2 separate regions of the Homo sapiens genome follow, and region 1 is linked to region 2. Evidence: promoter capture Hi-C in 16 types of primary human blood cells and fetal thymus (Javierre and others, 2016). All regions are on one chromosome and are shown on one strand. The core of a region is centred on a gene start or on the middle of the fragment in contact, and the rest is flanking DNA. Distances in the headings are between cores, read along the strand shown.

Evidence for each region. The method cuts DNA at HindIII sites, captures the fragments that hold promoters and counts their contacts. A CHiCAGO score of 5 or more calls a contact.
Region 1: a contact is called between the fragment with the promoter of YBX3 here and a fragment that was not itself captured in region 2, in 6 of 17 cell types (fetal thymus, total CD4 T cells, M1 macrophages and 3 more). The highest score is 7.2, in fetal thymus.

The regions. Positions count from the first base shown.
Region 1 is chr12:10,720,703-10,726,356 of GRCh38, reverse strand. YBX3 (Y-box binding protein 3) reads left to right here and starts at 3,034. Exons shown (of 10, transcript NM_003651.5): 1 at 3,034-3,507. The coding sequence starts at 3,246. LOC124902876 reads right to left here and starts at 3,305. Exons shown (of 2, transcript XM_047429946.1): 1 at 2,697-3,305; 2 at 1,039-1,320. The coding sequence starts at 3,247. The coding sequence ends at 1,251. LOC112268104 (a long non-coding RNA gene) reads left to right here. Exons shown (of 4, transcript XR_002957443.2): 4 at 78-165. RefSeq lists silencers at 2,919-3,138, 3,159-3,258, 3,389-3,788. The HindIII fragment of the contact is 1,699 bases long and covers 2,321-4,019 here.
Region 2 is chr12:11,485,963-11,491,455 of GRCh38, reverse strand. It overlaps LOC440084 (a long non-coding RNA gene), which reads left to right and starts at 4,778. Exons shown (of 5, transcript NR_148969.1): 1 at 4,778-4,892; 2 at 5,305-5,407. The HindIII fragment of the contact is 1,627 bases long and covers 2,751-4,377 here.

The DNA.
Region 1 (5,654 bases), core at 1,785-4,284, 760 kb after region 2:
ATTTTAAGCTCCAGTCCCTTGAATAACTTGAATTCTCCTCAATCTCCTTAGTCAATTAATTGCATTTTCTTCCTTAGGGTGATATGCTGGATAGCCTCCTGTCAATTTAGCATCAACTTTAGCTTCTTCAAATGCAGAGACTACATTTCCCAGAATCTCCCTCCCGGCCTGTATATTTCCAAGTTGGAATCTAACAATGAGAGCCTTTCGCTCAAAGTTTAGAAGGAAGAAGAGAAGACCATTATATACCAGAGTCAGTTATAGAAAGATGCATCGGCATCAAAGCTGCTTCCAGATGAACTTCTTGAGGACTTACTGCATCGGTGTTGCTGACTGAGATAGCAGGTGCAGGAGTAAAGCTAATGAAGTTTAAATTTCAGGGCTCCTGTCTTGCACGGACCCTTTCGAAGACTCTGGGAGCAGTCCTAGCATTTTAGTATTCATAACTTTATTTTATCTCAAAAAGGGCTCTCTAAATTGTATTAGTTTTAAGCATCACAAAACCTGAATCCAGCCCTGAATTGCTGAGAACTTCCGAAAGATCTTGTGGCTCCAGTGGCTTCAGGAGAACTCCTGAGAACCACTGTCTTGGGGACTGGAGGCTGAGATCTTCAGTGGAGCTTCTCTGAGTTTCCCTCCTTCAGCCCTTCCAACAGTTGTGAGAGCTTTAACTTCCTCCATACTAGGAACAGAGTGGCATTTGTTTTTATGATCAAACCAATAATTGCTTAAAAATGACTGCTGTCAGCAATTAGATTATAATTCTTTGTTGACTTACTCTTAAACTTAGTAAATGATGATATTGTCTTACAATAGAAATGTTGATAGTGAAAAATAATTTTAACATCATATCAAAAGACCTTACAACCGGCTCCATTTTGGTCAACATTGGATACTCACAATGGTGTACTTTGTCCGGGACATAGCATTTGCTTAGCAAATATGAGTGTATGAATTAGTGAATGAAGGAATGGATAAATTTATGTGTATCTGTATCCAAGTTGCTTCCTACTTATGATTATTAAAACATAGATCATATTTGTTCTAATTTTCTTTAGATTTATTTAGTACAATACCAACAACTTCCAGCTGCTCACTGCTTTGTTTGGATGACAATGATGAGTAGTTTTGGAAGCCAGTCCAGCACAAATTCTAGGAAATCCCAGGGTGCATCTGTAATTATTTTAGGGTCTTCCAGAGGTTGGAGATCACACCTGTTAGTTATGAATTACTTCCAAGGATGAATTTTTTTAAAAGGCTTTACTGTTGGATCGGTTTGAAGAGTTCAATCTCCTTACTTTTTTTTCTTGTAATGTAATTCTGAAAGGTAAATAGCAATGATAATCATTTTGCTGAATAAGAAAGTCAATGGTCAGTCCTCACCAGAATAAATCATGTTTATAATTTAATTGTAATTAAGACCATAATCTTTCACATGAAGAAATAATTTAATCATTCTTAGAATTAGACCAGCATTTTAAAAGCATCTACATTTATATAACATCACTGTATGCTCCATACTGAAGTCAAACTAAAATATGAATCTAACATTTAAGAGTTTGTAATTTTTTAAATATTGATGAATTACATAGAAAAGCTCAAAATTACATAATTTGCTATTTTTTCAAATAACTTATTTTCTTTGTGTTTTTTGTGGATGAAATAAGAAAGTAAGAATTCAGGAAAGTTTCATAATAATTGATAGCAAATGTGCAGATAAGTAATTGAGTTTGGAAGAATTTGGTCTGTTTTCATTTTGTAAACATTCACTATGTCCAAACTCTGTGCTACGTACTGTACTAACCAGTGGAGATACAAAGATGAATTACACTTGATAGTTACCCTACTGATGTTAAGGTAGACATCGACATTACAGACATATTCCTGGAAAAAAATTTGGTAAATTGTTTGAGGGAACAGGCAATAACTTAAAAAACAAACAAAACAAAGGAGCTTTAGGTGGACCGGACACTGGAGTGACACATGATAATCTCATCTACTTTTCATGTCACCTTTGAGAACCTCTCATAAAGCAGGAAACCGACTCTGGGACATTGAATCTCTGTCCCAAGTTAACCTGGTTAATAAAAAACAAAGCCAGAATTTATACCTAGTCTGTCTGAACCCTAGGGGCCAAATAGTCCTGTATTCCAGACAGTCTTTGGGTACAGATCCCAGACCCTCTGGCCCTGTGTTTACTACCATCCAGCCCATTCTCAAAGGGCATGTGGGCTCTTCAACTTGGGAATAATGTTTATTGGGTGATCTGTTTCTCTATACCTCTCATCCTCGAGGCTAAGAGGGCTCAGTTCCTTAAGCTTTCACCAGCTGGCAGAGGCAACTGGAGCAGAAGGTAGGAAGTGGATTTATTCAGCTTTTTTTGTGTGTGTTCCTTATTAAATATATATTGACAGCTCCTTATTTGTTGCGGTTAAATTGGTGTAAACTCTGAATTTACATTAAATCTGTGAGGTCAATTTCCTCATCTGCGTGTTACAGATGAAATTATCCGTATATTACCTTTCAGGAGTAAGTTGCCAAATAGTCTTAAGGTTTTATTATTCCAGGTCTTAACAGCTGTGCTACGAATAGCTGCTGGTGCTTGATACATGTTGAATGACTGACTAGATGCAAAGGATTTAAAAACAAGTGTTTGAGAGGGTAAAGCGCAGAGTAGTTTGGGTGCCCTATTTTACCTCTCCTTGTCAGCTGCGGGTGTCAAGACGGGTTGAGGGAGGAGAGCCAATGCACCCCGCTCCAACAAAGGGTCAGCAGCGCGGGCTCCTCGGAACGCTCCAGAAGACAACCCGGGCGCCCCGTTCACCCTGGCTTTCCTTGGTTCTGCAACGCGACCCGCGCGCTCGCGTCCCGGCGGATTGGAGCCATAGAAAGCGCACCGGGCGCCTTTAAATGCTAATGAGAGTCCAGGGCCCGACTCCCGAGCCAAGTTTCCCCACCCTCTCCCCTCGCCCGCCCTTCCCTCCCGGGCCGGTGCGCCGCCTAGAAAAACTTGTGCGGGGCCATTTTTGGGGCAGTAAGATCGAGCGAGGAGCCCAAGAGAGAGCGCGCAGCACGAAGCTCGAGCCGCCTCCGCCGCGCGACCCCACCTCGGCCGCCGCCGCCTGCGCCGCGAGATCCGCCCCGGCCTCCCCGAGAGCGAGCCCCGGCCGCCGCGACCACCAGCCGCGCTAACCGCCGACCAACCGCCACCGAGGCGCCTGAGCGAGAGCAGAGGAGGAGGAGGCATGAGTGAGGCGGGCGAGGCCACCACCACCACCACCACCACCCTCCCGCAGGCTCCGACGGAGGCGGCCGCCGCGGCTCCCCAGGACCCCGCGCCCAAGAGCCCGGTGGGCAGCGGTGCGCCCCAGGCCGCGGCCCCGGCGCCCGCCGCCCACGTCGCAGGAAACCCCGGTGGGGACGCGGCCCCCGCAGCCACGGGCACCGCGGCCGCCGCCTCTTTAGCCACCGCCGCCGGCAGCGAAGACGCGGAGAAAAAAGTTCTCGGTGAGTCAGGCCAGGGAGGGCAGGGGCTGCCGTAGTGGGGCGGGCCCAGCCGGCCGCGGAGCACGTGTGGGCAGCTCGCGCTACATCTCCCACCCGGGCTGGAGACGCTGACAGCACAGGGTCCCCAGGGATCTCCGGGTCCCCAGGGGTCTCCGGGTCCCCAGCGCTGGCCGCCTCCCTTGCCGGCGCTCCCAGGTGAGCGCGCTGCGCCCTGCGCTCCTGGCGGCCGTGTGCATCTCCCTTCTGGTTCCGGGCCAGAAAGTTTAGGTCTTAACTTCTGTCTCCCAGACGGGCACTGTTGCGGATTCGCGTGGTGGAAAATGCCTGCGTTTGGAGAAGAAAGGAGAGGCAGTCTGGGAGAGGGGACCTTGGGTAGGGATGGATGTAGGGGAAGGACCGACACGTGGGCCTGGCGCTTTGGGGTCCTTGCTTGGGATCTGGGAAAGGAGAGCATTTCCTTTGGGGAAGAGGAGGGCGCTAGAAGGAGACGGGGAGGGAAAGATAGAAAAGCTTCTTGCCAGGAAGGGTCAGGTGTCTGTCCCTGACGCCCTTCCCACATGGGCATGGGAAAGACGCCATGCTCCTGTTGGCCACATGCCAGCAAAGAGATGTTGCAATCGTCTCCGGGAAACTTGGGTCTTAGTCCCACGTCTTCCTCCCCCTCTCTGTGCCCACGGCTGCAAACAGCCATTCAGTGTCCACCAATGGCTACACGCTTCCCTCTTCCCGGACTGTGGGAACGCACGTGGTGTAGCAGCTGAAAAAACTTTGTCGGAAGTGGGGGTATGACGTTAGTTCAAAACATTGTTACCTTGGCACTTGTAACGTAGGAAGGGAAACAGGAAGATGAAATGTTGAGATTTGGGGGGGCAGTGGATGGAAAGGGTTTCTGTGATGGTTGTTGGTTTAGTCACATAACAAGCGTTCTTTTCGTAAGTAACGCCCCTGTGTGAGTTCTTAAACGCTTGCAAAGCAGGTGGGTGGTGAATAACCTCCCTAAAGGGTGTGTGTCCATATCGTTCGCTCTTATAAACAGGAACGTTAACAGATGGTGTAGGATGCTTCGGAGACCTCTTCACTATTTGGGGTGGGGCATGTTTGTCTCATCTCTCTGAGCCCTACTTCCCCTTTGGGAAGAAAGTTGAGGGAGCAATGTGAGAGAAGTGTATTCAATATTCCCCACCTTGAGAGGACTATTTTCTTGTTTTTTTTTTCTAGGGCTTTTACTAAGTCCCTACCAAACAACATGCTAATTGTAACCTGTGTAGGTTAAGAAACAAAATAGGCCTGATTTTGCTGGACTAAAAGTTGCTTAAATCTAGTCAGTAGTACATTGTGATGTTGTTTCTAGCAAATATTTCTTGGAACACTTTCTGCCAGATGTCTGAGAGAGAAAACCTTGTGTTCTCCAAAGCAGTGTTAGGATAACATTGTTAATGATACCTTATTTTGTAGAAAGCTTTTGCGGTTTTTCACTTAATCCTGTACTGTTCTGAGATTGGGAAAGCAGATACTATCTTTAAAGATGAAGGAAACAGATAAATGAAGGTTAATTTCCTCAAGCAACTGCCTCTGCAGATCCCTGGTGATGAGTCTGATGCCTTTTATCTTTCCACTCTTACTGCGTCTCTCTAAAAATGAAGGACAGCCCTTTCTACGTGACACCTCAACACTGTTTGTCTCTGTCTAGTGTGTCCTGCCATCCCCTTTCCTTTGCCAAGCAAACACATAGATGCCTAAGATGTACTAGGCACAATGCTGACTAAAATGGATATGTTCTAGTATTTGCAAATGGGCCTTCACTTGAGTTTATAAGCACATAGGCCAGGAAAAATAGTTTTCATGAGTGCAAAAAAATTTTCCTTCTGATAAATGTTATGGAAATCTATGGTCTTCCTCCCCAACCCTTCCCCTTAGTGTATATGAAGTGGGTTTATGGTTTAAAGCAAGACGTGGGAATGAATTTGATCATAAGAAGTCCTTGGAGAAGTATTTGCGGAATTACGAAACTTTTTTAAACTACATTGGAGAGTAAAAATAACCTTCAGCTTGGATTGAGGTTAGACCTGAGAATTATTTATCATCTTTTTCCTTTATTATTAGTATTGTCATTTTAATCAAGATTATTCCTTCAACAATGCTAGATA
Region 2 (5,493 bases), core at 2,315-4,814:
TTGTTATACCCATGTGACTGTCTTTAGCATACCTGAGTGTTTATGTTTATGAAAATATGTATGTTATTATTGTCCATTTTATTGTGTAAAGTGGCCTATGGTCTGTTGTGTTTTTATGTTTCTCAAATAAATCCTCTTTAAAACATGTAAATGAATGTCTTTTAAAGAATTTTTTATGATTTATTTTAGGAATTTGACCTTTCGGGATTTGAGATTGTGGCATTTTGAGTTGTATCTTTTGGGATTATGAACCCAGTAACAACAAAGATCAAATGGACTGACTCTCTATTCTGTTGCATTGATCTATATGTCTCTCTTTATGTCAATATTATATTAACTTGATTACTATAGCTTTATTTTATTTAAAAACACAGAATTTAATATCTTCTTTAATTCACTAAATAGGATACAAAAAGCATGAACCACAAAAAAATGAGAAATTGGACTTCACCAAAATTTAAAACTTCTATTTTTTCCACACGCACTTTCTGCTTATCTAAAAAACTTGTTTTTTGAACAACACTATTAAGAAAATAAAAGCTGGGTGCAGTGGCATGCCCCTGTAGTAGTCCCAGCTACTTGAGATGCTGAGGTGGAAGGATTGCTTGAGCCCAGGAGTTTGATGATTGTAGTGTACAATGATTGCATGCCTCTGAGTAGTCACTGCACTCTAGCCTGGGCAGCATACATCTCTAAAATAGTAAGTAAGCAAATAAAATAAATTTTTTAAAATGAGAAGATAAGCCACAGACTGGGAGAAAATGTTTATGACACTTGCTAACAAAGGGCTAGTATCCAGAATATATAAAGCACTCTTACTACTTAATAATAAGACAAATAATTCAGAAAAAAAGTGGTGAAAAGATTTGAACAGACACCTAAATAAGGGTGGTGTATAAGTGCATGAAAAAATACTCAACATTATTATTCACTGAGGAAATGAAACTTAAATCCACAGTGAGATACCATAAAACACTCATGAGAATGACTAAAGTTAAAAAGACAGACAATACCAAGTGATGGTGAGAAGGTGAAGGAAATGGATCTCTCATGGATTTCTGGTAAGAATTCAAAATAGTAGCACCGTTTTGGAAAACGGTTTGTTAGTTACCTAAAAAGTTAAATATAAAGTGCCCATACGACCCATCAGTTCCACTCCCAAGAGGAATGAAAATATATGTCTACACTAAGGCCTGTATGTAAATGTTTATAGTTGATTCATCCATAAGAGCCACAAACTGGGAACAACCCAAATGTCCATCACCTGATGAAAGGAAAAACAAATTTTGGCATACCCACATGGTGGCATATTACTCAACAACAAAAGGAACAGACTGTAGATCCCCATGCCAGCATGGATAAATCTCAAGAGCATTTCATTAAATGAAAGAAATCAGACATGAAAGACTACATAGTATATGACTTCACTCGTGTAATATTCTGAAAAAAGTAAAACTGTAAACATAGAAATCAGAGAACAGGAGACAGGAGTTGGGAGTCAGAGGTGGGGATTAAAGACAGGGGAACCCTTTGGGGTGTGAAACATTTCCTATATGTTGATGGTGATGGTGCGTAAATGACTATATACAATTGTCAAAATTCATCAAGGTGTACACTTCAAAAAGATAAAGTTACTGTCCTCCCACTGCTGAATTTGACTGGCTTAAAAAACATAAATGTTACTGTATATAAATTATAACTCAAAAGTGATGAATAAAGGGGAAGAGAGCACAGAAGTTCTGTATTCTCCCAGAACTTTAGCAGGTAACTTGACTGTCCCAGTAATATTCTGAATAATTTTTAGCCATATGAAAAATAATTAGCAGGTACTTTGACTGTCCCAGTAATTATTCTTCATATTATTAAAAATTATTCATGTCTGTCCATAGTGCTTCACTAAGGTCAAGCTGTAACTTTACATGCTGAAAAAAGAAAAACAAGGAGAAAAAAATGAGACGATCTAAGGATGGATACTGGGATTAAAAAATAAAAACAGTTTATTTTATTTTCACAGAAAAAGACTGACCTGTTGAGCAAACTTCTTGATGGTGAAGGGCATGAGGATCCCATCTATTATTGACTAAACATTTATGAAGCAAAATTGTTCTACTTTGTTGTAATGACCACTGTATCTATGTTTTTCAGGTTCTACAGAGAGTACTACTAGATGGAAGTAGCTGTAATAAACCAGAGATTGTAAAGCAGTAAATTCTACAGGATAGCCTTTATTTGTAGCCTTCAACCCTTCTTCAGAGCTCCCTCTTCCTCTCCTTTCAGATAGAAAAATGATTTGGAAAAAAAACTACCCAAGATATTTGAAGTTTAATGGGTTAGTCCTCTGTGGGAATGAGCCTCCAGTGAAAGATGCTTAACACAAAGAAATTTCCTGTTAATAATGGTTTGTCACTTCAGTGGGGAAGGAATGGCCCAAAGCAGCCTCCTTTTTGACTCCTTGAATTGTATCATGTCAGTGATAATTTCCACTGCTGAGGTACTCATTCTAGGCAGCATCTAAAGAAAATTTTGTATTTCTTTCTGGTGAGTATCTTTTTCAATGTTTTAGCTTACAAAAGATGAGTTAAAAGGCAGGGATACACTGGAAGGTGGCTCACCTAGCTGTTATCACTGGCACTATGCTCTGATAGCTTTCCTTGTAGCTCTGGGGTTGGTTAACAGGTTTGGTTAACTCTGATTGTATGCTCACAAATTAATTTAATCCTCCATCCTCAGTCCTGTTTTAGTCTCAAGCTTCATGTTCTTCCCTGGTGAAGTAATCATCTTCCACACCTTCAGCTACCACCAGTATGCTGACAATTACCAAATCCATCTGTCTTGTGTCAAAAACGATATATTTGGCCACCTACTGGGCATCTCCAGTGGAATGGTAGGTAGACCTTTCTGAAACATGTATGCTTCCCATTATATTTCTTATTTGGGGATGGCACAAAGATCTATTCCGTCACCAAGGTCAGAAAATTGAGATTCAACTTTCTCTCCTTTTCTCTTATCACCTATATAAAATCAGGCTCCAAATCCTGAAGAATCTAAGTTCTTCATATTATTTCAAAACATTTGCTCCCATCCTCCTGTTCCCTGCCTTATTTCTGATCCCTCTGATCTCTTACACAGAGTCTACCACCTGTACTGGACGTTTATCTTTTATTTTTTGACCATTCCAGAATCTAGCCTCTTACTTCCTATTTTGGGGATCCTCTAGTTGTTCCTCCAATACCCATTTCCCTTCTTCCTAGTAGTAGGATTTTAATTGCCCACATGGCCACACAGGATCCTGACTTTGTTAGTTTTTCTTGTAGCTAGGTGTGGCTATGTCATGAAGTTCTGGACAATGGCATGTGACTAGAAGAGAGATATGCCACATCCAGGTTGTGCTCTTAAAAGAAAGGAACATGCCATCTTATTTTTCCCCCTTGCTCCTGCTAGCTGGAATGGAAAAGTGATGGTGGGAATCGGAGGAGCCATCTTGGGCTGTGCAACGGAACCCGTGAAGTATTGCAGAGTGAAAAGGCAGAGGCAGGCTGGGCCAGCAATAGCTTCACAAAGAGCTGCCAAACCAACTTGGGCCTTCGTAGGAGGAAGAAATACACTTCGGTTTGCGTCATTGTTAATTTTGGTCTTTGTTACTGTGGCCAGACAGATACCCTAACTAATGCTCATTTTATGAAGTCATAGCAGCTCATTATTCCTTACTCTGCTACCTGGCTACCAAGGCAAGGGCAAATGGCCTAAAGCTGCCAAGCTGGGATCCCACTGGGGTGATTAGGACTAATTCAGGGCAGTGGTGGCAGCGATGACCTATTGCAGCAGAAGCCTGTCAGATTCATGAGACGGCTGCTGTGCGTACTCCAAACTAGCTATGCTCCTGCCCATTTCCTAGTCTGATCTTCCAGCATCTTGATAACTTGGCGCATTTTTGATACATCTCCAATAAATTTCTCTTTTTATTTAAGTGAGCAGAATAGGTTTATATGACTTGTAACAAAAAAGACTCCAAACTGATGTACCAAATTTCGATTTCACTTTCTTCCAATCTATTCTCTATGCTTCTGCTGAAGTGGTGTTTGTAAACTGATTTAATCCTGTATTTTCCCTGCTTAATACTCATCAGTGATTCCCCAGTCATTGCCTCCAGGATAACCTCCTTAGTCAGGCATATGAAGCCTTCCATGATCTGGCCTCCTATGTCTCTCTTGGGACCTGTTGCTACACCTCGTGGTTCAGCCACGCTAAATCACCCAGCTAGCACAATATCTTCACATTGCCTGTATTTCTGCCTGGAATTCCTAACTCCTCCTTCTCATATCTACTTGTCAATTCTTATTCAAGAGACACCTTAGGGTTCCTTACCTCTGTAAAGCTTCCCTAACTGCCCCCACACTGGTCATCCGTAGTAGATAGACAACTCTGTCCTTTGGGCTGTACACTGTATCCTGTCCTTAATCATCTTTCTACCACCTCACCAGGACCTCACCTGCCTTCATGTCCGCCTCCACAATATTGCGCTACATTTCTACTTATAGCACCTGTTTTTTTTTGAATGATTGGTGCTTAGTATAGTAGACCTGTATTAAATAAAAGAAAAACATTTGAAAAGTTTAAAAATAAACCGATAGGTGGCAGCAGAGCCCTGCTGTTAAAAGTAACTTTTGCAGTTCTAAACGTTTTTAACCCTCATGAGCCAGCAGGTGGTGCTGTCTGACACCAAAGCGCCACGTCACAACGGATGCGCAATCACTATTTTATGTGAGTGCAGATTTGTATTAAAACCGGAAAGCATGGACACCCAGACAGCTTACTGTCAATGACTGTACTATTCACTGTCTTCAACAAAAGTCAGCTATTCCAGGAAACTCTCGTCCAGAAAGATAAAAATTGCAAGTAACTGTTTTTTGTTTCAGGAAATTCCCCAGAAAACAACCCTTGAGAAAACCAGACTGTTCAACTTTCCCGCTGATAGCGCTGAACAACCTTTTACTCCTCAGGACTCTTCAAAATCCATGGCATTTACTGATCCTTAATTACCACATCACGATCTTTACCAAATTCTGATCAACCTCATGCCCCCACCTTGAAAGACCCACCTTCAATGTTATAAATATCCCAACTTTGGCACCTGGCTTTGAGACACTACTAAGAATCTAGATAGTGTGAACCCAAAATATCTGAGACAGGTCTCAGTCAACTTAGAAAGTTTTTTTTTTTGCCAAGGTTAAGGACGTGCCTCAGGAGGTCCTGACAGCATGTGTCCAAGGTGGTTGGGGTACAGCTTGCTTTTATAAATTTTAGGAGAATGAGACATCAATCAATATGCGGAAGATTTACATGGTTCGGTCTGGAAGGGTGGGACAATTCGAAGGGTGAGGAGAGAAGAGGAGCTTCCGGGTCATAGGTAGGTTTAAACATATTCTGATTGGGAATTGGTTGAAAGAGTTACGAAAGGAATGTCTGGGTTACCAGGAGGGGTTGTAGAGACCA